4 separate regions of the Homo sapiens genome follow, and regions 1, 2 and 4 are each linked to region 3. The links are contacts of gene promoters, found by promoter capture Hi-C in blood cells and fetal thymus (Javierre and others, 2016). All regions are on one chromosome and are shown on one strand. The core of a region is centred on a gene start or on the middle of the fragment in contact, and the rest is flanking DNA. Distances in the headings are between cores, read along the strand shown.

What was found. Contacts are between HindIII fragments. The CHiCAGO score rates a contact against its expected background, and 5 or more counts as called.
Region 1: a contact is called between a fragment that was not itself captured here and the fragment with the promoter of HOXA5 in region 3, in 1 of 17 cell types (total CD4 T cells). The highest score is 6.4, in total CD4 T cells.
Region 2: a contact is called between a fragment that was not itself captured here and the fragment with the promoter of HOXA5 in region 3, in 1 of 17 cell types (monocytes). The highest score is 5.4, in monocytes.
Region 4: a fragment that was not itself captured here is called in contact with the fragment with the promoter of HOXA5 in region 3 in 1 of 17 cell types (activated CD4 T cells); the score reaches 6.0 in activated CD4 T cells.

What each region holds. Positions count from the first base shown.
Region 1 is chr7:25,834,179-25,839,873 of GRCh38, forward strand. No RefSeq gene overlaps it. Among named protein-coding and RNA genes, the nearest start is that of LINC03007, 47 kb to the left of the region's middle. The HindIII fragment of the contact is 3,501 bases long and covers 1-3,386 here.
Region 2 is chr7:26,075,709-26,082,295 of GRCh38, forward strand. All of the region lies in intron 1 of LOC105375199 (a long non-coding RNA gene), which reads right to left. Among named protein-coding and RNA genes, the nearest start is that of NFE2L3, 73 kb to the right of the region's middle. RefSeq lists an enhancer at 3,439-3,508. The HindIII fragment of the contact is 6,266 bases long and covers 1,682-6,587 here.
Region 3 is chr7:27,138,778-27,144,950 of GRCh38, forward strand. HOXA5 (homeobox A5) reads right to left here and starts at 4,904. Exons shown (of 2, transcript NM_019102.4): 1 at 4,269-4,904; 2 at 2,275-3,308. The coding sequence starts at 4,830. The coding sequence ends at 3,058. It overlaps HOXA3 (homeobox A3), which reads right to left. Exons shown (of 6, transcript NM_153631.3): 2 at 1,306-1,409. It overlaps HOXA-AS3 (HOXA cluster antisense RNA 3), which reads left to right and starts at 1,587. Exons shown (of 3, transcript NR_038832.1): 1 at 1,587-1,762. RefSeq lists an enhancer at 733-1,311. The HindIII fragment of the contact is 13,335 bases long and covers 3,373-6,173 here.
Region 4 is chr7:25,953,115-25,959,092 of GRCh38, forward strand. The region is part of intron 6 of LOC105375199 (a long non-coding RNA gene); the gene reads right to left. Among named protein-coding and RNA genes, the nearest start is that of MIR148A, 6.1 kb to the left of the region's middle. The HindIII fragment of the contact is 225 bases long and covers 2,644-2,868 here.

The sequences.
Region 1 (5,695 bases), core at 386-2,885, 1.3 Mb before region 3:
GCCTTCAAAGAGTTAACTGAAGTTAAATGAGGTCATAAGGGTGGAACCCTCATCCAATATGACTGTTATCCTTATAAAAAGAGGAAGAGACACTAGGGCTTCATGCACACAGAGAAAAGCCGCCATCTGCAAGCCGAGGAGTGAGGTCTCAGAAGAAATTAAACCTGTCTACACCTCAATCTCGGACTTCAAGCCTCCCGAACTAGCAGACAATCAATTTCTATTGTTTAAGCCACCCAGTCTGCAGAATTCTCTTATGGCAGAATCCACACCCCTAGAAATTAGATACCATTTTTTAACTTTTCACTATAAAATTTTCTTAATGTTAACATTCAGTTTAACACTGAAGTATAGTGAAATAGGTAATCAAACATACATTGCTGACAGGACATGATTCAACACAACTTTTTGGAAAGCAAATATTAAAAGACATAAAAATACTCGTTTTCATTACCCCAAGAATTCTTCTGGGACTCTATCCTGACCAAATAACTCAAAATATTTTAAAAACTATATACACAAAGAAGTACATTAAAGTATTATTTACAATACTTGCCCATAACTGGAAGCTCCCCCTTCCCATGAATTACAAGTTGTGTGGGCCTTGGGTTTGTGGAGGAATCTGCCAGGGACTTTTAAAGATTCCCAAATTTGACTGTACATCTATATATGAAATTGTGTTGGTTTATTTGCAAAAATGGTTCCAATAATTCTTTCCATTCCTGTCTGCATGCCCCTCTGCCCTGTGATATTTCTGCCCCACCCATCAAGAAATAGAGTCTCTTTTTTCATCCTTTGATCTGGGTTTGGCCATATGACTTGCTTTGGCCTGCAGAATATTAGCAAATATGATGCAAGCAAAAAAGGCTTGAAAAACGCTTGCACATAAATCTTGTTTTCTCTTTCTGCACCTGAAACCATGAGACCTTAAGGCAAATAAGCCCAAGATAGGGCTATGATGCTAGAGAGGAAACATACTGAAAAGCCAAGGCACTGGCCAACAGCCTGCCAACCCAACTATGTGATTGAGTCCATGCTAGACCATCTAGCTCCAGCCGAGTCTGCCCGGGCCAGAACTCTCCCAGCCATCTCAGCCAGCCACAGAATAACGCACTAAATAATAAATGTTTGTGGTTTTAGGCCTCTAAAATGTGGATGGTTTGTTATGCAGCAAAAATTAACTAATACAATAATTTCCCCCTGTAAAATGCTTGTGGGACAAATTGAGAATAGGCAAACTATGTTAATATCTTTATACTGAGTAAGCAGTTGGTGTTCTAGCTGGTGAGCTCCTGAGTTCCAGTCTTGCGACTCACATTCCCCCAATGCTTCAGTAAAATTACTAATTACCACATTCCATGGACCTCTGGATTGCCTGAGAATACCTGAAATCTTGAACGATAAATCTGCATATGCTTATAGTCTGGTTTAGTTTAAAACTGGAAATAGGCAGAAAGCTCTACATTACACACTTCCCTTTCATTAAGCCACTTAAAATTATGGCTATGAAGACAATGTAGAAACATGGGGAATATATTAATGCAATATTAAATGAGAAGAACAAGATAAAACACTGTCCTTAAATTATTATTATAAATATGTAAAGAAAAATAGCTAAATAGTTACAATGAGGAAAAAGACTATAAATAATTGTGCCAAAACACATTAGAAGCTGCTTTAGGATGTTAGATTATGGGTAAGCAGTATTTTATTTTATATATTTGCTGTAATATTACCTTCATAATTAATTATATTCGTAAGTTTAAAAAATTAATATATAATAATTTTAAAAATTAAAACCTGGATATGGGTATAGCCCGTCTGTTTGCTGTATAATTTTTAACCATACAGACTCTCTCTGCTAGTTTAAAACCATAATTTCCCAGAATACGAAATGAAGTTTTTATTTATTTGGATCTTACTAATATTACACTGGAATTTTACATAAATCTGTTTAGAATCAATTTAAACTACTTTAAAGACCAGGACCTGCCCAATTTCACTAAGTTAATAATTATTAAAGCCTCATGGGTGAGGCCTTGTTTGATTCAAATGTAAGCTGAGGGCCGAGGCAAAAATCATGTTGCCACGTTTTTAGGCCATAACTATACTGAAAAATAGCTCTAGACCCAGTTACCTATCTTGGAATGAGCAGATCTTATTCTCCTGAAAAAATGCTGTATACGACCAAAACTTTTGTTAACTAGTATGGATTTATACCCACAGCCAGGAAGGCATTATGAGAGAAAACAATAATAAAATCAGACAGTTTGAGTGCTTTTCTGTGGCTCCCCCTTGGACAATCTCTTTAAAAACAGCAATTCCTTTGACTTTTGACCTCAGCAATCTCCTATTTTTGAGCCAGTCTTCCCCCATCTCACATCCATCATTGTAAAATATGTCAAAATGAGTGAAAACATGGATTTCATCTCCAAGAAGTTTTCTTGTGAAACTTAAACAGAAAAGATTCTAGTCCATACGGGCTCCAGCCTCCCCCAACTATCACCATAGACTTCCCACATCACTGCAGTCAGCTTAACGTAAATTCTTAGGAGAACCATGTCAGTCTCTGTTAATAAACATGGTTCCAGCACACAAATTCAATTGCATTATGAAATCTAATATGTCAAATGGCAAAACCATAACACACAAAGTTCATGTAATCAGAATATTAAACAACTGTCACTCAGTTGTAATACTTTCAATTCCGCAACAGCAAATGGCTCCATTAATAAGTAAAGCAGCAGGATTCAAATGGCTTTCTGCTCTTATCCGCCTGGGGCTCCACCACCACACCAAGGTGGTTTTAGGAGTCAAACTTGATTCCAGGAAAAGATCTGCCCTGAAAAAAAGGGGAAAGAAACTAACCCTATAACATTTCAAGCCAGAAGTGTAACCATTTGCCAATTGCCTTCTTTTACTCGCCAGATACTGTACCTCTGCCCAGTTGAGTGTCAAGTCTTTAAGACTGCAGAGGTGAACTGGAACCCTTCAATATGAGACTTGTTCTGTACACCATGTCCACAGCAGCACTATTCACAATACCCAAAACGTGAAAACAATCCAAGTGGACATAGATCAACAGATGAATGGATAAGCAAAACCTGGCACGTTCATACAATGGAATACTATCCCAGTGAAACATTACTCAGTCTTAAAAAGGAACGAAGTTCTGACTTTTTTGGATCTTACTAATATTGCACTGGAATTTTGCATAAATCTTTTTAAGCCCAATTTAAACCACCTATGAGCCCAAAACAAGTCTAACCTCACTAAATTATAAATTGTTGAAGCATCCTGGATGAGGCTTAATTTGATTCAGATCTAAGCTAAGTGCAGAGCCAAAAATCACATTCCCACCTTTTTAAGTGCAATAACATGGATGAAGCTTGAAGACATTAGGTTAAGAGAAATAAACAAGACACAAAAGGACAATATTGTATGATTCTGCTTATATAAGATACGTAGACTAGGCAAATTCATAAAGACAGAAAGTAGAATAAAGGCTACCAGGGTCTGAGGGTAAGGGGGAATGGAGAGTTTTTATTAATGGGTACAGAGCTCCAGTATGAAATAAAAAATTCTGGAAATTTATAGTGGTGATGGTTGTATAACACTATGAATGTACACTTAAAATGGCTAAAATGGCCACTTTTATGTTATATATATTTTATAATTAAAAATTAGAAAAATAAGGCTTGAAAGATCAAACATTTGGGATAAAAAGAACTGCAACTTAAACTATACTGTGTAGCACACTTCTATCCTTCTGCAATACTTTCTTCATCTTTTCTGTCTTCATTAGCAGAACCTCTTGAAGACTCCACATAGTATCTCTTATTTTGCAAATAAGAAGACTAAGACTTGTAATAAATTGTTCAAGTGTACCCCCAGATTGGCACTAGAATGTGGATGCCCTGGTTTCCATCCTTTTAGCCAATGACCTGTATCCCCTAACTTCAAGGTTATGAGACACTTACCTTATGCTATAAAGAAAGAATATGTGTTCCTAATTTAAATTTTATTTCTCTGCTTTCCATGTAGCCAAAGTCCACAGAGTGAAGGCACCCTGCCATGCACATATCAAATGCTCAGTAAGCAATTTTTCATCATCATTAAAAGCAATTTATTACTCACATATCTGTTACCAAGAAAGACAGTAATCATCTAGAGAGAGACATAAAAACAACCAGATGGAGATTCTTGATTTTGTTATTTGATGAAATACATAGAAAATGATAATTCCTTAGCAACGGATTATTAGAAAATAAAAAAGATGATTAGGGGCATGGATGATTCCTAAAGAGATCATTGATGATCCACAAAGATCAGAAAGCATGTGAATTTAAGGTTTATTATCCAAATCTATTTTTGACAGCTCTTTAAGGCTGAAGAAGTGTTAGCTAATAAAGTAACATTAGACTTGCTGATGTGGGAAGGTTTTAACGTCTGGTTCTCACTCAATGAAACATGAGTTTCAGAACTCCATATATTCCATTTACCCAGACCTCCAAAAGAAAGTCTTTTCTAAGGTCAATTATAACACCTCCAGATGGACCAGAGCAGCATTTCCCAAAGTGTCCGCCAGGGAATTTGAGTGCTAAAAGATGTACCTCAAAGAAAAAAAAAAATTTCTGTGGTCAATTAAGTTGGGAAATTCTGCTAAACAAAATCGCCCACTTGAAGATGTACTTTACACTTCAGCATTTTAACATCTCTCTTTTCTGTGAAAGTATCAGCCACTCCTCACCTTTGCCATGCTTCCATGTGGGAGGAGTGTACTTCCTGGCCCATCAGGAAGCTTGGCCAAGGGACTCGCCTTAGCCAATGGAATGAGAGCAAATGTACACCACATCTAAGCAGAAGCTTTAAATGTACTTGAATCGTTTGGGTCAACCTCTTTGTTCCTACCCTCTGCTATGAGAAGAGTGTTCCAGAGAGGGGCTGCTCCTCCAGCCTACATCCTGGGATGGAAAGAAATGTGGAGCTCAGCAGAGCCCAAAGCAAGCCAGAGCTGACCTACAGAACTGGAAACCAGAAGTAATGTCAGGAGAGGCTTTCCCATCTGAAAGATAATGAAACACCTGCTATTCCTGAGGAGTCCACTAGAGGATGAGACTCATCCAGCCATCCAACCGAGAGATAAGTGGGGAAACTTTGGCAAAAGGACTGTTGGTGAGTATTTAATATATATGATTGTAGAGCTAGGATTAAACTAAGGGTGAGAACATGAATAAGTATGCAAATGTTATAGTTCTGACATAATAGGTGGATTGATATTGTTGGGAGCCAGGGTTGGTTCTAACTGTAAAGAAAAGAATTAAAAAAGGAGTGGGGACAGCAAGGGAGGGCTTTATGTGATTAGATTGGACTTGGAAGTGTCAATATAAACTCATGACGTCATTAAAATTTTTTTATTTTTTTTGCATCCTAAAAGCAATGACATTCCATTTAGCTGTGAGCACACCTGGCACCCCAGTCTTAGTTTATAAATACCATTGCTAACTGAAAGGAGCCAGGGATCTTTGGAGAAATGGTTGATTCCAGGGCTGGGGTGGTGAAGGTAAAGATGAGTCTGGAACATTTTGCCTTGCAAGAAAGTTAAAAAGGTGCCCACAAAAATGATAGCAATATGTCAATAGAACACAGAAGTCAACCTGAAAGGGTTCCCACTGGCCAAATGTGGGGCAATTTA
Region 2 (6,587 bases), core at 3,565-6,064, 1.1 Mb before region 3:
CATGGCAAGCAGATTGCCTGAGAAAAGACCATCCTGGGCAACAGAGTGAGGTCCTGTCTCAAAAAGAAAAAAAAAAACAAAAAAGACGACTAAAAATTAACCATAAGTCTTTAATTGTATCAAGTGTCCAGTCAATGTTTACTTTTCCCAGTTGTCTCCTAAATGGACCTGTCCACATGTGGCAGTTGGCTGCCATCCCATTGACATTATTTTAATCTGAGGTTCCCTCCCCACACACTTTTTCTGGCTATTCCCTTACTGAAGACATTGAGTCATTTGTTCTAGGGGTTCCCACGTTCTGGGCTGTGCCGCCTGTGCCCTATTGTTTTCTGAGAAGTGGTAGTTACACGGAGGCTTGAATAGATATGGGCTTGATGTTTTGACAGGACAGCTTTACTGGAGGGGTCATGTTCCTCCACCAGAAGTGCCATGTCTCCTTTCATGATGTTATTGGCCATTATGATCAATGGGCTCTGATAATATAATATAAGCTGTTAGAAGAAAACCATTGAACCAAAACATTCAGAAGGTTTTGTTTAAAAAAAAAACACACTAAAATCCTTTTTCTCTGTGGTAGGCACTGTGTTTTCCTGCACATAGCACCTCATTTAATCATTCTAACACCCTCATGAGGTGCTGATGGGAGCAGATTTGAACCCAGCCAGTGAGCCTCCAAAGCTCATTCTCTTAGCTACCACAGAAGCAGATCGCCTTGAGAGTCTTATCTTATGGGCCGGCTGCAAAGGAGAAGCCCCTTTTGACTTAGGTAGCATGAATAACTGAAAGAGGTAGAAGTGAAGCAGTAACCAAAAAAATGGTTGAATCTTAAAACACAAGGTATACATTCCTATAAGACTGATCAAAACACCAAGTGGGCCAGACACGGTGGCTCATGCTTGTAATCCCAGCACTTTGGGAGGCCGAGGCAGGTGGATCACCTGTGGTCAGGAGTTGGAGACCAGCTTGGCCAACACAGCTTAACCCCGTCTCCACTAAAAATACAAAAATTAGCTGGGTGTGGTGGCAGGTGCCTGTAGTCCCAGCTACTTAGGAGGCTGAGGCAGAAGAATTGCTTGAACCTGGAAGGCAAAGGTTGCAGTGAGCCAAGATAATACCACTCCAGCCTGGGCAACAGAGAGAGATTCCGTTTCAAAAAGTGACTGTTTATTAACTGGCGAACGCAATCATCTGAAGGGCGTGTCATCTGACAGAGGAGGCAAGTTGGACTGCAGTCACAGTGTCATCTTGGTACAGGCATGGAAACAGAGGCTGAGGAGGTCCCAGACAACCTTCATCAAATAGGGCTGAAATAGCACTCCGAATGTCACCAAAGTGAGTAGAAGCCATGATGCTCTGTTTAAAGTTTGCTCTGCCCTTTGCTCAAATCAACTTAGAGTTATGTTACCCACTCTTGGTGGGAAGGGTTGCCAAAATTAGAGTCATTTCATTAATCTCCCAGGCCAGGGAGAGGTGGTTATATATCACTCCAGGTTACGTTGGCAGCAGGATAATCATTGCATTTCCGTAGTGCATAAAGCAGTATTTCTTTCCATTCATTTGCTATCAGAGTCTCTATAAAAACACCTTAGAACTAAAATATGTTTCTCGGTCCTTTAGATTTTAACAAGACTTCCTTCAAGACGAATATTTTTGAAAAATTCCAAAGTATGAAAAGTATGGAAGCTTCATTTCAAAGGACATCTCTAAACAAATTTTTTAAATTAATATTTTTACAAAATGATTGTCTCATTCCTAACAGGGGAAGGCACCTTGTGATTAAAAGGAAGAAGAAGAGAGGGAAAGGGAGAAGGAAAGATGGAACACAGGAAGAAGAAAGGAAGGAAGGGAAGGAAGGAGGAAGGGAGGGAAGGAGGGAGAGAGGGAAAAAATGGCTTAAAATATTTAGAATGTATTTAGAATATTTTTATTACAGTATTTAGGGAATTTAAATGTGTCAAAAACAAAATAAAACTGAGAGAAACCAAAATTAAGTATGTAGGTAGAAAGTGATGTTTTGTCACTAAATGTATTTTTGAAAATAAAATCGGGGGCCGGGCACGATGGCTCAGTGCTGTAATCCCAGCCCTTTGAGAGGCCGAGGCAGGCAGATCACTGGAGCCCAAGAGTTTGAGACCAGCCTGGACAACAGGGTAAAACCTCGTCTCTACAAAAAATACAAAGAAAATTAGCCGGGCGTAGTGGTGCATGCCTGTAATCCCAGCTACTTGGGAGGCTGTGGCATGAGGATTGCTTGAGCCTGGGAGGCAGAGGTTGCAGTGAACTGAGATAGCACCACTGCATTCCAGCCTGGGTGACAGAGTGAGACTCTGTCTCAGAAAAGGAAAGAAAAGAGCCAAGCAAATTTAAAATTTCTTCTTCCTAGATCTTTCTCTCTCAGTTCACTGTAAATCACTGTGTATTTGTTTAGGATTCTAAATAGACCATAGGTAATTTATAAGTTCTCATGGAATCTTCTGAACTTTTTTAATGGTGTTTACCAACAAGAAACTGTGTCATATAGTAGAGATTTCTGTAAGCTGTCCTCTGAAACAGTATTCCTTCCCAATTACTTTTTAAAACAATGTGAAATCCATTATGTTTGATACAAAAAAAAAATTCTAAAAAATTGAGTGAGGTATTAAAAAAAAAAAAAAGATCTATGGCCAGGAGCAGTGGCTCACACCTATAGTTCTAACACCAGGAGGCTGAGGTGGGAGGATCCATCGTGATCAGGAGTTCAAGACCAGCCTGGGCAACATAGGCAGACCCTCCCCACCTCCCCCACATCTCAACTAAAAAAAAAAGTAGCCGGGCATGGTGGCACACACACCTGCAGTCCTAGTTACTTGGGAGGCTATGGTGGGAGGCTTGCTGGAGCCAGGGAGTTCCAGGCTGCAGTGATCTGTGATCTCACCATTGCACTCCAGCCAGGGCAACAGAGCAAGATCCTGTCTCAAAAAAAAAATTAAAATTTTCTTAAAAACTAGCAACAAGATCTAGAAGTGAATGTACTGTAAAATAAAAATCAGAGTAAGGGAATAAAGTCAAGAGACTTGCGCTATCATCATTTTACAGCTGTTACTGGCAGGAATAAATTGTTTACATTGCCCAGTTCCACATCTTTGATTCTTCCAGCTCACATAACTCATTATTTTACAAGGTGTTTCTGTAACAACTCACTAAACAGTAGTCCTTGCAAACAGTTCTGCTGCTCTGTAATCCAAGATTTTGGATAACATAATTTTAACATAAACATAATTTCAATAAAACTAAAGAGCTCTTTACTGTGCACTGAACAAACTACTCAGGCAGTAGAGGTCTCGCCAACAATGCAACAGACAAAGCAAAGCCGGGATGGCTCAGGCAGGGGGCGCGCGGATCACTCACTGCAGACAAAGGGAGAAGGACCCGACGCGCCCACACCGCCCGCGCATGCCCTGTGCCCGCGGGATCAGGTGTAGCGGGGTAACAGTTGAAAGCGCACAGACAGCTGGAGTTAGCTGGAGTAGCCCTGCTACTCAAGCTGTGTGGTTTGGGGCAAGTTGAGTAATCCTTCTTAGCCTCGGTTTTCCCATCTGCCGCATGAAGAAAATGCCACCTTGCAGAGTTACTGTGAGGACTAAAGAGATAACCCACATACATCTTCTTAGTTCTGCTGTCGATGCTCAATAATAAATGGTATCTGTTATTACCATATGCCATCCCAGCTCCCATCATCATCCCCAATAGGCAAGGGACATCACCACAGTGACACAGCTGTGCTTAGACCAAGGATGCAGAGAATTAAATGGAAATAAATTGAAATAATACCCATCCCTCTTTAGATGCTCTTCTAGAATTTGGGCTGTCTGGAAGTGGGCTACTGTAAGTGGGTTATCCACTCATGTGCCTAATCCTGCCTGTGTATTCAAGGCTCCCTTCCTCTGTTCAGGCAAGAATAGAAATTGGAATCTGTGAGTAGTAAGTGAAGACGAGTCTAGAAAAAGCAGCATGGGGTGAATGGAGCCACCACACTGTTCAGTGGCAGAAAGTCTGAATAGACAGCTCCAAGCTCAGAACCATCCACAATTTCATTATTAGGCTTAACATTCTGTGTTAATCAATCCATCCTAAAACCCCCACCTCTGAGGCAGACACAGAGGCCAAATATAACACAACCCACATACCATCCAATTCAGGATGTTGTTCAAATATTGATGAGTTTCAAACCCTCTAACAATATAAAGTATTATAAGCCACATCTAAAAACCAAACTTGACCTTGGAGGGAGAAAACAGCCAAAGACAGATATGTATTATATAAATTTCCTTTCTGAAGCTACAGGGAAATGTCAAATCATCACAGTTTATTTATTTTACTTTTTTTCTTCCCCAAAAAAGGAAAAGGAAAATTCTGGAATTTAAAAAATCAAAGAGAATAAAAATACAACAGTACATTCTATTGTTCTCCAGGTCCAAAAGTACATGCATATACTTAGCTGGCGAAAGAAAGAAAGGAAGGAAGGAAGGAAAGGAGGGAAAGAAAAGAAAAGAAAAGAAAAGAGACTTTGACAAAGAAAGGCATTTCCCTGGGAATATTCTACCTCTGGGAGGACAGTGGTCAGGCATTTCTTCTATCTTGCTATTCCTTGAGCACAGTCCTGCCAAATATCCTCCTTTCACCATTTGCAGTTACCATGAGAAAACCACAGAGAAAGCTCTGGACAGCCATGGAGTCTTAGCTGGATCTACAATAAAAGGAGTCAGGTACCCTCCCACCTTCCCAGAAAGACTGTGCTGGGGCTCAGAAAACAACACCCCAAAATGAAGCCCTCAGCAGCAGCCTCAGAAGCAAATGATTTTCTCTGACCTTCTCTTGCCCTCCTGTCTCTCAGTCCCATTCTCCTCGGAGGCTAGCCATAGAAACCAGAAGCCTTTTCCAAAGCCAGCCATAAAACCTAAAAATATTAGTTTAACTTTCCCTCCACCCTATCTGTATAAAAACTGGCCATATGGGCTGGGCACGGTGGCTCATGCCTGTGATCCCAGCACTTTGGGAGGCCAAGGCGGGAGGATCACTTGAGGTCAGGAGTTCAAGACCAGCCTGGCCAACATGGTGAAACCCCATCTCTACTAAAAATACAAAAATTAGCCAGGCGTTGTGCCTCACGCCTGTAGTCCCAGCTACTGAAGAGGTTGAGGCAGAAGAATTGCTTCAACCCGGGAGGCGGAGGTTGCAGTGAGCTGAGATCGTACCACTGCACTCCAGGCCGGGCAATAGAGCAAGGCTCTGTTTCAAATAAATAAATAATAAAAATTAAAACTGGCCATAAATAAATAATCTGACCTACCCTGTTTGATAGTAGGTCATAAGACCCCCATTCCAGAGAGGGTCCTGCCCCACACCCAGAAGGAAGAAATGTGCGCTCAGAGAGGCCAGGGAGAATCTAGACAGGCAGCTCTTGCTGGGCTTCCCCACTCATTCTATTAGACTTAGATCTATGCTTTTCCTCCAATCATATTCCCATATGGCTGTCCATATTTTGTTGAACCTAAGCATAAAAATGGACAATTTCCCCTGTATCTTTGAGTCTTCATGCTGAAGGCTCCTGTGAATGCACGTTAAATAAGCGTATATGCCTTTTCTCCAATTAATCAACCTGCCTCATCTCAGTGATTTTCAGCAAACCTTTACAGGACCAAGAGCCTTGGCCCCCACAACTATGACATGGGATAAAAGTAAACTTCTACATGCAGATGAATTTGGTAGGCTCAGAAACATATACATAATTAACACAAGATTAAGTGTCCGTAATGGATATTTGGGGAGGGGGCAGAGGGAAAACAATCATAAGACACAGGAAAGCTCAGGGATATAAAACAGCTCAGGGAACACGTGCCCCTTTGAGAAGGCAACTTTCTGCTTCTCTGCTGTGTCCGGGAGTTCAGAGTCTCAACCACATACAGTTCTTAAGGACCACCTGATACAACTGAAAAGACCTTGGAGCTGATGCAACCTCTTCCCACGGGGTGCCTGCCACAGAGATGAGTGCCTGGAGTGGCTGTCACCTCCAGGGAACTCTGAGTGGGCCAAGGAAGGAAGTCATCCCCTCCTCCATTCAACTCATTAATCACAGCTGTTAGGTAAAGAGCCCCTAGGGGTTCCCACAGTATAGCAATAGCCTTTCCCTACCTACAGCCAAGCCTAGTCCAAAGGTCTTGGAGGCCCTGGGGCTCTTGGTCAGGGCCAGCCTCCCAGGCTCTGTTCAGTATGACTGTAAGAGTGATAAGAATCTCTCTGCGCAAAAGTTCCTTCTTCCACACCCCCCAAATGCACAACACCCATCTTCCCAGGCTAAATGCTCCAGAGTTCTATCTTTGAATTGCCCTGTCCAGAAACCTCCTTTAAAATGCAAATACACATAATAGAGATTTTGAAAAAGCACTTTAGCTTATACCAGTTCTCTAAGGAGATAGGAGGCTGGGGGAAGAGGCAGGAAGGAAAACTGCCTAGGAAGGGGCAGTCTAAGTAGGGGTCCAGGAGAGGCGCTGAGCAACCCAGGAGAGCAGGCTGACTCTGAGGTTGAAGGGGGGATTCAGTGGAAAGTG
Region 3 (6,173 bases), core at 3,654-6,153:
AGATTATGTAAATTTCCTGGGATCAAACAGAAAGAGCAACTAACAAAAGAAAGGCGGAAATCTCCTACTGACAAAGGACCAATTTCTTCCCTAAACTACCGTTTATGATGTGTCAGGAAAAACAACCTAATGGCTCTGGGGACTTTTAAGTTGGGCACTGAAGACACCTCAATTTCCCCCAAAACTTTAGAGCACAGTTTGGAACAGAGAATTCGCCTGTATGTTGAGGGGGAGTGAATTTCTCCAATCTTAATGTTATCCAGGGGGCCGCCTAAGTTGCCTTCTGAGGGTCCTGTGCGTAGATGTTTTTAATTCTACAAAGAAGGAGAGGAACAGGAAAGAAGAGAGGGAGAAGAAAGGCAAAGCGGAAGAAAAGAAAGCGCTTTAACCCCTTTCAATTAGCCTGGGGATTCAAAGACTAAAGTTAAATCCGGCCATAAAGTTTATTGCTTCAGACTCACAAGCGGCTGAGAACAGTCCCGCCGAAATAAAAAGAACATGCAGGCAAACAGGGTTCAGGGCCTGGTCCCGGGTGCGGGGGAGGGGGTCCTGAACACCCCCCCACACCAGGGTGGGGATCCTTGGTCCTCAGGGTCCAGTGGGCGCTAGCAGCCCAGGATCCACCTTGCAACCCGGGGGCCCAGCCTGGAGGTGCAGCCCCAGCCTCGCCGGCCTCTGCCACCCTCCCGCTCTCGCGAGCTAGCCTGAAACCCGGCCCCGAAGGCCGCCGCCTCAATTCAGCCCTGCCAAATGACCCCGGCCCGCGAAGACATATTGCCACAGCCCCGTAAGGAATCCCGCCAGAGTCCGCCTCGGCCCTGCCCCGGCCTTTCTTTCAAACTCCTGAGCGCAGCGCGGCCCTCGGCGCCCGCGGCCGGCGCCCCACTGTCTCCCAGCCCCGACCCCAGGGCTCCGCGACCCCCAGGAGCTGGCCCCGGCCGGCCCAGCAATTGCGCGGGGGACTGGGGGTGCGGCCCTGCCAGGTCCCCACACACAGGCCCATTCGCACACAAAAATCATCTTTTTGCACGCCGGCGGGAGCAGCGGAAGTCATTAACATCCGCGGTTGTGCTGCAATTAAAGTTAGGCCTGGGGATGCGGCGCGGCCACAGGCGCTGCTCACTCTGCTGCCTCCGCAGAGTTGGCTCCTGGCGCTGCTCTTTTGGGCAGAGGGAAAGTTTGCTCTGCCTTTTCGAATTCAGAGGCAGCCTGAGTTATTGAACCAGAGAGAGAGAGAGAGAGAGAGAGAGAGAGAAAGTTTCCAAAGTACAAATAAACTTGAAAGCGCTCAGGAGGCGAGCTTACCTTAACTCGGAGGGAGCCATTTTTCAGAGAGTTTTGAGAACTTGTGGTTTGGACACTTCTGGACCTAAAATTGACAGTTTGAATGGCCAGGCGGCACACGTAGCCTGCAAAAGAGTCAAATGGAGTCCAGCGTTAGTGAGATTATATGTTATGTGGTATATAATGTTGGATGTCAACTCCCCAAAACCATAAAACTTACTTTAATGGCCCCACGTGACGTTTTATAGCCAGTGAGCCGATCTGTCTGTGCTATGGATGATTTTACGATCTAATTCATAGACAAAACCCTATTCATTTGGCACCCAAATGTCATATAGCCGGAACTGGGGCTTATAAAGTTTACTGTTTTATAACTTTTAAAAGGAAAGACGGCATCAGTGTAAGCAGTCGGTAAATGTGCAAATCTCTAGTTGCGCTTTAGCTGCTCTGAGGAGTTTCCCAATCGAGCTAGGATGGGGTAAGTACCTTCAATTTGTAGCAAATTAATTGTAGCAAAAGAAGCCAACTGGGTCCCGGGTGAAGAGTGGGGAAGGGGTGCTGGGATGGGTTAAGGGCAGAGGGTTTGGGGTCCACAGACAGACATAGCAGCGTCTTCAGCAAGTGGAGGCCTAGGACAGCCTTAGGAAAGAGGCAGGATCTGTGTGGCCTGAGGGCGGCTAACAAAGCCCTGGGTTTTTTCTCCTTTTTTCTTGCTCTTTCTCTCTTTTTTGTACCCAGCAAGTTAACTTGGTTTCCTCAGAGATGGACAGGGTGTTCTGGGGCTTTGGAACAGCCTACAGCTTTTTCCACCTTCTGCCCTGAACTTTGCAATGGGTCAGAGGTAGGGAAGCGATGGGACAGTGTTGGTATGAGGTCTCCCTGCACAGGTCATCTGCTCAGGTAGCCTCAGACCCAACAGCTTCCAAGACTGCACAGACAGACAGAAAAGCAGACAGAGCCGCTCACTATTTGGCACAAACCAGACCAAGAGAACTTACAATAGAAAGTTTATTTTTTGTTCCAGTCAGTATTTTTTCCTTAAAAACAAATACAAAAAAAAAAAAAAAAAAAAAAAAGCTGATCACAGTTTGCTTAAAACAGCCAGACTTGGACAATATTTGTAACTTTGTTCACAAAAACATACATCACTGAAGCTGCGCTTATAAGAGCCACTTCCAGAGTTCGTGCAAAGGGTCCTATAAAGGCACGCAGGGACACACCGCTTGGAGTCACAGTTTTCATCACAGAGTCACTAGTCACTACACGTCGAACAAGTTGTGTCTCATCAAGTCACCTCTACAACAGCATTAATTACACAAGGAATATAGGTAGTTTGAATAAAAATATCTTTAACAGCTTGGAGCTATTGAGACAGGAACACTTCCACGCACATGCACAGTTAAACAACTTGAGTGCAACACACAACATTGGCACTAAACGAGATTGAAGGGGGACTTTTTGTGTGTTTTTTTTTCTCTTTTCTTTTTTTGTTATAGTTACTTCAAGTAACACAGCTTGCTTCATATAAATAAGTTAAAACATCTATTTTTTTTCAAGACAAAGCCATTCAGGACAAAGAGATGAACAGAAAGCAGATCTACTTATACAGGCGCTATAATGGCAATAAACAGGCTCATGATTAAAAGATGAATTAGGGCAACGAGAACAGGGCTTCTTCACAGAAGGAACACAAGGGAGTTTCAGAAAGTCACCTTAGTACTGACACTACGCGGGATCCGCTAATACTGCTCAGTACTTTAAACGCTCAGATACTCAGGGACGGAAGGCCCCTCCTGCCGCGGCCATGCTCATGCTTTTCAGCTTATTATCTTTTTTCCACTTCATTCTCCGGTTTTGGAACCAGATTTTAATTTGTCTCTCGGAGAGGCAAAGAGCATGTGCTATTTCAATCCTCCTTCTGCGGGTCAGGTAACGGTTGAAGTGGAACTCCTTCTCCAGCTCCAGGGTCTGGTAGCGCGTGTAGGCCGTCCGGGCCCTTTTGCCTTCCGGGCCGCCTATGTTGTCTGCAATAGAAAAGTCAGCGGTTTAGCCACCAACTCCTGTCTTCCAAAGTCCGCCAGGGGGACAAGCTTGGGTCATGAGCAGGGAACCCAGGCGAAAAGCTCAACAAGTTCTGCCTACCAGCCCGCACACCCCTCCCGAATTTCCTTCTCTCTTCCTTTCTAGAAAGAAAACAATACGATTTGGACCCTGGGAACAATCTGCCCATCTGAGGCTGGGGCCGTGTCCCGGCGGACTCCGGCTTTCCCTGGCCCCTCTCCTGCCCCCTCCGCCCTGCCCCGGGCGCCCCGATCGGGAGGCACAGCCCTCCCAGGCTGCCCACCGCACAGAAACCCAGGAAGCAAGGCCCTTTCCTGAGCGCCCAAGTGGCCTTCGGGTCACCCTCCCTCAAAGTTCCAGCCCCGAGAGCCGCCTCCCGTTTCCAGCCTGCAGGGTTGGGGAGCCTGTTTTCTTTTTCTTCCCTTTCCTTCTCTCTCCCTCCTGCCCCCAAAATTCAGAATCCTGCAGGCTCTCGCCTCGATTCTTTCCCCCAAGCCCCTTTTCGGGGGCTGTAATTAGTAACGCTGTTTCCCCAGCGTAGCCCTCCTCATAAATTATCCGCCGTGACAAGCCCGATTCACGGCTGCTACAGCCATCCTCTACCTCTCTGCGCCTTGCTCGGCTGGCCTGACCCGGGAGCGCGTCCCAAGGCGTGGGGTTCCAGAGGGGTTTTTTGCTTCCTCCCCCTTCCAACGTCTAAACTGTCCCAGAGAACGCCCATTTCCCCCACTATTTGTGAGCGCAGGGTGCTCGCAAAGAAGAGGAGGAAGGAGGAAGGCAGGGGAGGGAGAACGGCAAGGAGAGCTCCGCAGGGCTGGGAGAAATGAGACCAAGAGAGACTGGGAGAGGGCGGCAGAGAAGAGAGGGGGGACCGAGAGCCGCGTCCCCGCGGTCGCGTGGATTTAGAAAAAGGCTGGCTTTACCATGACTTATGTGCAGCTTGCGCATCCAGGGGTAGATCTGGGGTTGGGCGGGCGGCGCCGGGCTCGGCTCGCTCTGCGCACTCGCCTGCTCGCTGCTGGCAGGGGCGTCCTCCTCGGCTCCGGACGCCGTGCCAACCCCCTCTCTGCTGCTGATGTGGGTGCTGCCGGCGTCGGCCGAGGCGCCGCTGGAGTTGCTTAGGGAGTTTTTCCCGCCGTGGTGGCTGTCGCTGCCGGGCGAGGGGGCCACGGCGGAGCAGGGCAGCGGATCGGGCTGAGGAGAGTGCGTGGACGTGGCCGGCTGGCTGTACCTGGGCTCGGCGGGCGCCGCGCTGGCGCTGGCAGCGTAGCTGCGGGCGCGCTCTCCGGAGCCAAAGTGGCCGGAGCCCGAGCGGCCGACGCTGAGATCCATGCCATTGTAGCCGTAGCCGTACCTGCCGGAGTGCATGCTCGCCGAGTCCCTGAATTGCTCGCTCACGGAACTATGATCTCCATAATTATGCAACTGGTAGTCCGGGCCATTTGGATAGCGACCGCAAAATGAGTTTACAAAATAAGAGCTCATTTGTTTTTTGATATGTGTGCTTGATTTGTGGCTCGCGGTCGTTTGTGCGTCTATAGCACCCTTGCACAATTTATGATGAATTATGGAAATGACTGGGACATGTACTTGGTTCCCTCCTACGTAGGCACCCAAATATGGGGTACGACTTCGAATCACGTGCTTTTGTTGTCCAGTCGTAAATCCTGCCTGATGACCTCTAGAGGTAAACTCGTGCACTAATAGGGGAGTTGGGTGGAGGCGAGGGGGGTGGCGCGCGCGCCCCGGGCGCGTGCCCGCCGCCAGTTGCCGCCGTTCAGCCGGACTCGAGCGCCACCCGCTGGAGGCAGGGCTCATCGCCCAGCTTCCGACCGGGGGCTGCAAGGGCCGGGGTCGAATTGAGGTTACAGCCCATTATGGCAAAATTATTGCATTTCCCTCGCAGTTCCATTAGGATGTACCAATTGTTAGGCCGTCAGCTGCCGATCGCGCGCCCGGCGAGGATGCAGAGGATTGGGGGGAGGTGGTGACTTGCATTTTATTTACAACAACTTTATTTCCCCCGTTTTGCAGCCCCTCTTATTTTTGTGTCGAGGTTGGGGTCGGTACTGACCGTCCTGCCAGCAGCTCTGAATTTTGAAAATACAGATATCACCTTCGGGGAAGGGGGAAAGCCATTTAGCCAATTGGAGAAATAAATCCTGCCCGCAGCAGCAGCAGCTACAATTACGGCTCTGTTTTTGCGAGCGCATGAGGGACAGTGTCCCTGCCGCTCTTAAATGACAGGCGTCTATTAAAGATAGCTTTTGTGTAGTGTTTCTCCAAGGCGAGGTCAAATTCCATACACTTTTATAACCGTAGTCGATTTTTCTTTCGTGTGAATATGGTTTTCGTGTCATTAGTTTGCGATTTGATTTGCTTACGTATCCAGCCTGGAAAATCTTCATCACAGGGTCCGGTTCCTCGAGCCAGCCGGGCCCCAAGTCGGAGGGTTCTCCTTGAACCCAGCGAGTGGGCCCAGGCTCCCTGCAGCCACAGAGGCTGCCTGGGGTCTGGGGATCCGTGGGGCGGGTTACTGGGGTCTTGCTTAGACCTCCAGGAGTAAAATGAGGGCGATAATGGAAGCATTCCTTGGCAGTGCCTAGTATCTCTGTAGTTATTTTCCACGGCTCCGAAAGACTCAAGTAAATCACAAATATAGCTGAGAGGCAAGTGGAGTCTCCCCGCTGGAGGCCCGGCGTTGCAGGCGCCCCTGGCACGTCTGGAAGCCAGGACTCTGGCGGCTCCCATGGCCCTGGGCCCCTCGTTGGGTCCTGAACGCTGCTGTGGCGGCGACGCGGGCGCTATCGGAGGCTGGGAGCGGGAAT
Region 4 (5,978 bases), core at 1,506-4,005, 1.2 Mb before region 3:
ACTGGGGGAGGTGGGGAGTTATTGTCTGCCATCAATCCTACCACATTTCACAATGATAAAATGAAAACAGGCTCACTCCAGGAAAGGGCCAGAGTTTATCTTTTAATACTGGATATGTGGGTGCTTATTATTCCGCAGCCCCTAAAATATGCTTCTGATTAAAAGGACAAGAGATGTTTCGCATGACTTGAGGGGAAAAATTAATAATGGTCCCAACTTGGGGGCTAGCCTCATGACATTTGCAGCAGATGTGGAAAGATAGCTGGCCTTGGAGTCAGGAAGGTGCGTTCTCACCAAGCACCCCTGTAAGGAGAGCTTTTAGTGAGTCAGTTCACCACTCTGGGCCTCAGGGAATTTACCTGTGATTTAAAGGATTAGACTAAATCACCTCTAAATACCTTCTTGCTCTAACACCTATGAGTCTACAGAAGAAATAGTGTTATAGCTAAAACCTTCAAAAACAAAAATACGATTGAGTGTGTACCATGGATAAGAAAAATAGCTTAATACCAAAGGTGTTACAGAAAAAGAAGGCAGAGATGCTCCGACTTCCAGTTGCATGTTTTATTTTCCGTTATATTCCAATGCAGTCTTTCTTAGGGGTAACTTGACCTGGCGTTTCTAATTTTAAGAGTTTTTCCTAATGAAATAATTAATAGCACTAGAAAGATGTTTATCATTGCCAGTAGTACAATATTGAAACATTAGAAACAACGTATGTATTGAATAATAAGGGATTTATTATATAAAATATGGGGAGTGGTATATTTATTGAGTGGACTACAACTATTTAATATGGTGGTGCTGAATGACTATCAAAATATTATGGAAGGTTTGCATTCATTGAGATGTATGTACTATTTAAATCTCTATGTGTCCATGTATGTTTATGTCATAATGGTAACAGATATGGGCTCTGAAGCCAGATGGCTTGAAACCACATCCTGTCTCTGCCACTGGCCAACTCTGTGGCCCTAGCAAGTTGTAAACTAGGTGTACCAGTTTCCTATTGCTGCTGTAAGAAATTCCCACAAACTTAGTGGCTTAAAATAACATGCATTTATTATCTTACGGTTCTGGTGGTCAGTCCAAAATAGGTTTTGCTGGGCCAAAATCAAGGTGTCAACAGGGCCATACTCTTCCAGAGACTCAAGGGAAGATTCTGTTTCCTTACCTCTTTTAGAGGCCTCTTGTGTTCCTTGGCTTTTGGCCCCTTCCTCTGTCTTAAAAGCACAGCACTCCATTCCCTGCTTTTGTCATCACATCTTCTCTCTGACTCTCATCCTCCTGCCTGCTTCTTTTAAAGATCCTTATGATTACATTGGGCCCACCTAGATAATCCAAGATAATCTCCCCTTCTCAAAAGTCTTAATCACATCTGTAAACTTCCTTTTGACATGTAAGGTAACACAGTCACACATTCCAGGGATTGGAATGTGGATATTTTGGGGCCATTGTTCTGTCTACCATGTTGGGCTAAAGTCAAGGTGTCAGCAGGGGTGCATTCCTTTCTGGAGTACCAAAAGGAGAAATCCATTTTTTGGTTTTTCAGTTTCTAAAGGTTTCCCGCATTCCTTGGCTCTGGCCTCCTCCTCCACCTTCAAAGCCAGCAAAGGCTGGTTGAATCATTCTCACATCGCATCACTCTCATGCCGCCTCTTGTGTCTCCCTCTTCCTTTCTGATTGCGTTGGGCCTACCTGGGTAATCTAGGATATTCTTGCTATTTCAGGATCAGCCAATTACCAACCTTAATTTTGTCTGCTATCTTAATTCTCCTTTGCCATGTAACATAACGCATTCACAGGTTCCTGGGATTAGTATGTGGACATTTCAGGGAGGCTGTCATTCTGCCTGCCACACTGCCTATCACTGATGGTGATAATCTACATCATAGGGTTGTGCAGAAGATTAAAGCATCCACACATGAAGAGTGTTTACAAAATGCCTAGCATTTTGTAAGAAGCACTCCATAATAACTAGCACAGAGTAAGCATTTCATAATAATGATCCGTTATAGTTATTATCTAGAAAGGAAATACAAAACAGAGAATAGTTGCATCTGAAGGTGGGATTAAAACTGATTTTTATTTTCCTCATTTTGCTAATTTTTTTTCTTTTTCTACCATGAACGTGTATTATTACTTGGGTACTTTAAAAATTTTAAATATAAATGAGAAAAAACCATTAAAGGAGGTTGTCACATAGGAGAATAATTTAATTTGGGGTTAGAAGGCCCAGGTGCTCACCTCAGCAATGGTACAAACACAAATTGTGATACTGGGCGAGTTACTTTACCTCCGTGCACTTCAGTTTTCCTCCTCAGTAACATGAGAGAGATGAACTATGTATTTCAAATGGTCCTTCCAGTTCTAAATGCTCTGCACCTAACATGTTAAAAATCAACAGATTGATAAATGGATTTTAAAAACCCATGCTGCTTAGTACATAAAGAATCCCAGCTGCTTTGCCTATGGAGTAGCCATTTTTTTATTCCTTTACTTTCTTAATAAACTTGCTTTCACTTAAAAAAAAAAAAAAGAACTCCACAAAATCAGTAAGAAAAAAGACAGCGCTATAGAAAAAAAAGAGTGGAAAAGGCATAAACAAGCATTGCACAGAAAAAGAAAAGCAAATGGCAAATAAGCTTAGGTAAAGATGTTAAGCCTCATTAGAAACAAGGAAATGTAATTTAAGACTTCAGTGAGATATCATTTTATACCCACTAGGTTGGCAAAAATTCACAAGCCTGACAACATCAATAGATGGAGATGATGTAAATCAGTGGCATTTGGGGTCTTTTCACACAACGGATTATTATACAGCACTGAAAATGAATGAACTACAGCTCCTCACAAAGCTATGGATGAAGCTTGGAAACATAATGTTGAGCAAAAAAAAAAGAAGATGGAAAAAAGCAAGTCCCAGGAGACTAAGATATAACGATGCCATTTTTATAAAGCTCAAACACAGCCAAACAATATAATTTTAAGAAATTTATAAAGTGATAAAAAGCAAGAAAATGATAAATAGAAAATTCGGGTTAGTGGTTGCTGGTAGGACGTGGAGGGAAGGAGGGTGAGAAGGCAGCCCAAAGGTGGATGCAATTGGCAATGTTCCTGTTCTTAAATTGGACATAACACTTAGGCTAGTAAGTGTTCAGTATATTATGTTTTGTGATTTGCATATGTGAGAGATATATATATTTTATATGTACCAAATATTAGATTTAAATTTTTTTTTAAGAATTCTGTTTAGGGGCTTCTGTATTCTAATCTAAGATGCTTTACTTCTTGGAGTTGAGGCTAATCACTAAGTTTCCCTTCAAACTCATAAAAGCCAACTCTTTATTGGCAATTTGCTATTTGTAATCCCTCTAGTTAAACAGACTTCATAACAGCCACCCACATCTGGGCTTGTGCAAAAAATGTTTTCAGTTTATGCTCCAAATGAGCCTCATTTTCTCTGAGAACTACACTGCACTCCCAGAGTTGGGGGGTATACCAGCAGGAGCAGTACCTCCAAAAGTCTCTTGGAGCGTGCCCTCTGTGTGCCTCCGGAGCCCTTCCTTCATCTTGCCTGCAGCTAGCCATTTGGGCAGCTTCTGCAGCTAGGGCTGAGCTATACAGTTCATAAATATCCCACTTAGCCCATGTGAAATTGTCTCTACTCTGATTGATTACAGTTTTGATTTTAATGCTGAAAAATCACATTCTGTGTGCTCCTGACTTGTCTTCTGTTGTTTTATAAGGTTTGTCCATCTGGCCAAGACATCATCTAGAGTGGCTTGGTCTCACAGTCCTGCAACAATCTGGCATTAGTGTTATTTTTGACTTTGATTCCATCTTTGATTCCATAGTCTCCCAAAGAATAAGCCAGTTTTGTTTGATGTAGTTTTCTACTTCCTTGACTCTAAACGCAGCATTTGGAAGTAATTATCAGAACTCACAGGTACTTTAAATATCATTGTTTCCACTGAAAGGACTGGCTTACATAGGGTTCACCAAATGAAGCGGATGCTTAGCACATGGAGGAGGGATGAAGGTGGTCTTAGGGCAGCAGTAATATTTGGCACCCAAACATTGCCGCTTACATCCACCTTTGGATGTTGGATGCTACAGACACACATCAGTTGGGTTGAGTACCTTTTTTGGTTTTTTTTTTTTTTTGGCTTTTTTTTTTTTTTTTTTTTTTTTGAGAAAGAGTTCCACTCTCGTCCCCCAGGCTGGAGTGCAGTGGCACGATCTCGGCTCACTGCAACCCCCACCTCCCAGGATTAAGCGATTCTCCTGCCTCGGCCTCCTGAGTAGCTGGGATTACAGGTGCCTGCCACCATGCCTGGCTAATTTTTTGTATTTTTAGTAGAGACGGGGTTTCACCATGTTGGCCAGGCTGGTCTCGAACTCCTGACCTCAGGTGATCTCCCCGTTTCGGCCTCCCAAAGTACTGGGATTACAGATGTGAGCCACCGCACCTGGCCTGGAGTACCATTTTTTAAGACCTGCTACCTAAGGTGGAATGGCCCCCAGTCCTGTACACTTTGTGTGAGGTCTTCAGCTTTGGAGACATAGATTAAAAAAAAAAAAAAACTTTTTGTCATGAAAAATTGCCAAAAATATACCGAAGGATAAAGAATGCAGTATAAATATATCCCACAAAAATAGATATAAAAATTACAGGAAAAGTATAAAGAAATCTGTCACCCACCACCAGTTTCAATAATTATTAACTCAGGACCATTTGTGTTTCATTTGTACTTCCCCCATGCTCCCCAGGATTATTTTGAAGCAAATCCTCAATATCATGGGGTGTAAATGTTGTGAATGGATCTTCATGACAAGTATTCTCAAAGCTCCAGATAGGATATTAGGAATGGCAACACTGAGTAGGAGGCCTCTCTTTGCAACATTATTACATGCTATTCATTCTAATTAATTAAATAAATGAGAAGACCAAAGTTCTTTGCAGTTGAGACTCGCTTTAACTTCCCAGTAGAAGGTTTTCTTGGATAAACTTAACATATGGAAAATTACTGCAGGACTTTATAGTTGGGAAGAAGGGGAGCAATAGAACAATTTAACTTTTTAAAAGTTTATAATTCCTCAGTCTCACCATCAATGAAATATTGAGAGAGTCCATGAAATAACATCAGTCTATTACAGTAGTCTTAACTGGTCTCTATGATCCATCCTACATAAATTGCTAGCATTATTTTCCTCTAGCTCACCTTTGCCCATTGTTTTAATAAATGTGAGTGCCTATTATGTACAAAGCATCGTACTAAGCCCTGGAGATAATTAAAAGATGAATCAGATATGGAGATGTGGCTCCTATTCTGTTTTTGTTTTTGTTTTTTAAGACAGGGTCTTGCTCTGTCACCCAGGCTGGAGTGCAGTGGTACAGTCTCAGCTCACTGCAACCTCTGCCTCCCAGGTTCAAGTGATTCTCCTGCCTCAACCTCCCTAGTAGCTGGGATTACAGGCACATTCCACCACGCCAAGTTAATTATTATATTTTTAGTAGAGACAGGGTTTTGCCACGTTGGTCAGGCTGGTCTCGAACCCCTGACCTCAAGTGATCTGCCCGCCTCACCCTCCCAAAGTACTGGGATTACAGGTGTGAGCCATGGCACCCAGCCTCCTATTCTGTAATAAAGAATTTGGTCTTTGCCTGGGCTCCTGGGATCTTCTAAAGCCTTAGAATTTTCTGAGAGATAGGAGTGCCTTGGTTATTCATGGTGGGTCCCGAGCCCCACCTGAGTTATGATAAGGAGATGACCTAGGATGGGGCTAGTCATGATGGAAAAACCGACTATGTGATGAAGCTTTAAGCCAGGAGATATCCATGATATTCAAATAAGGTTTATAAACTTGAGGTAAAGCCCAGCATAGTAGATCAAATATGAAGGAAGAGAAAGAGAAACAAGAAAATTGGATAAACTTTATCCAATAGTTGACAGTAGAATAGTGTTTCATAAAGG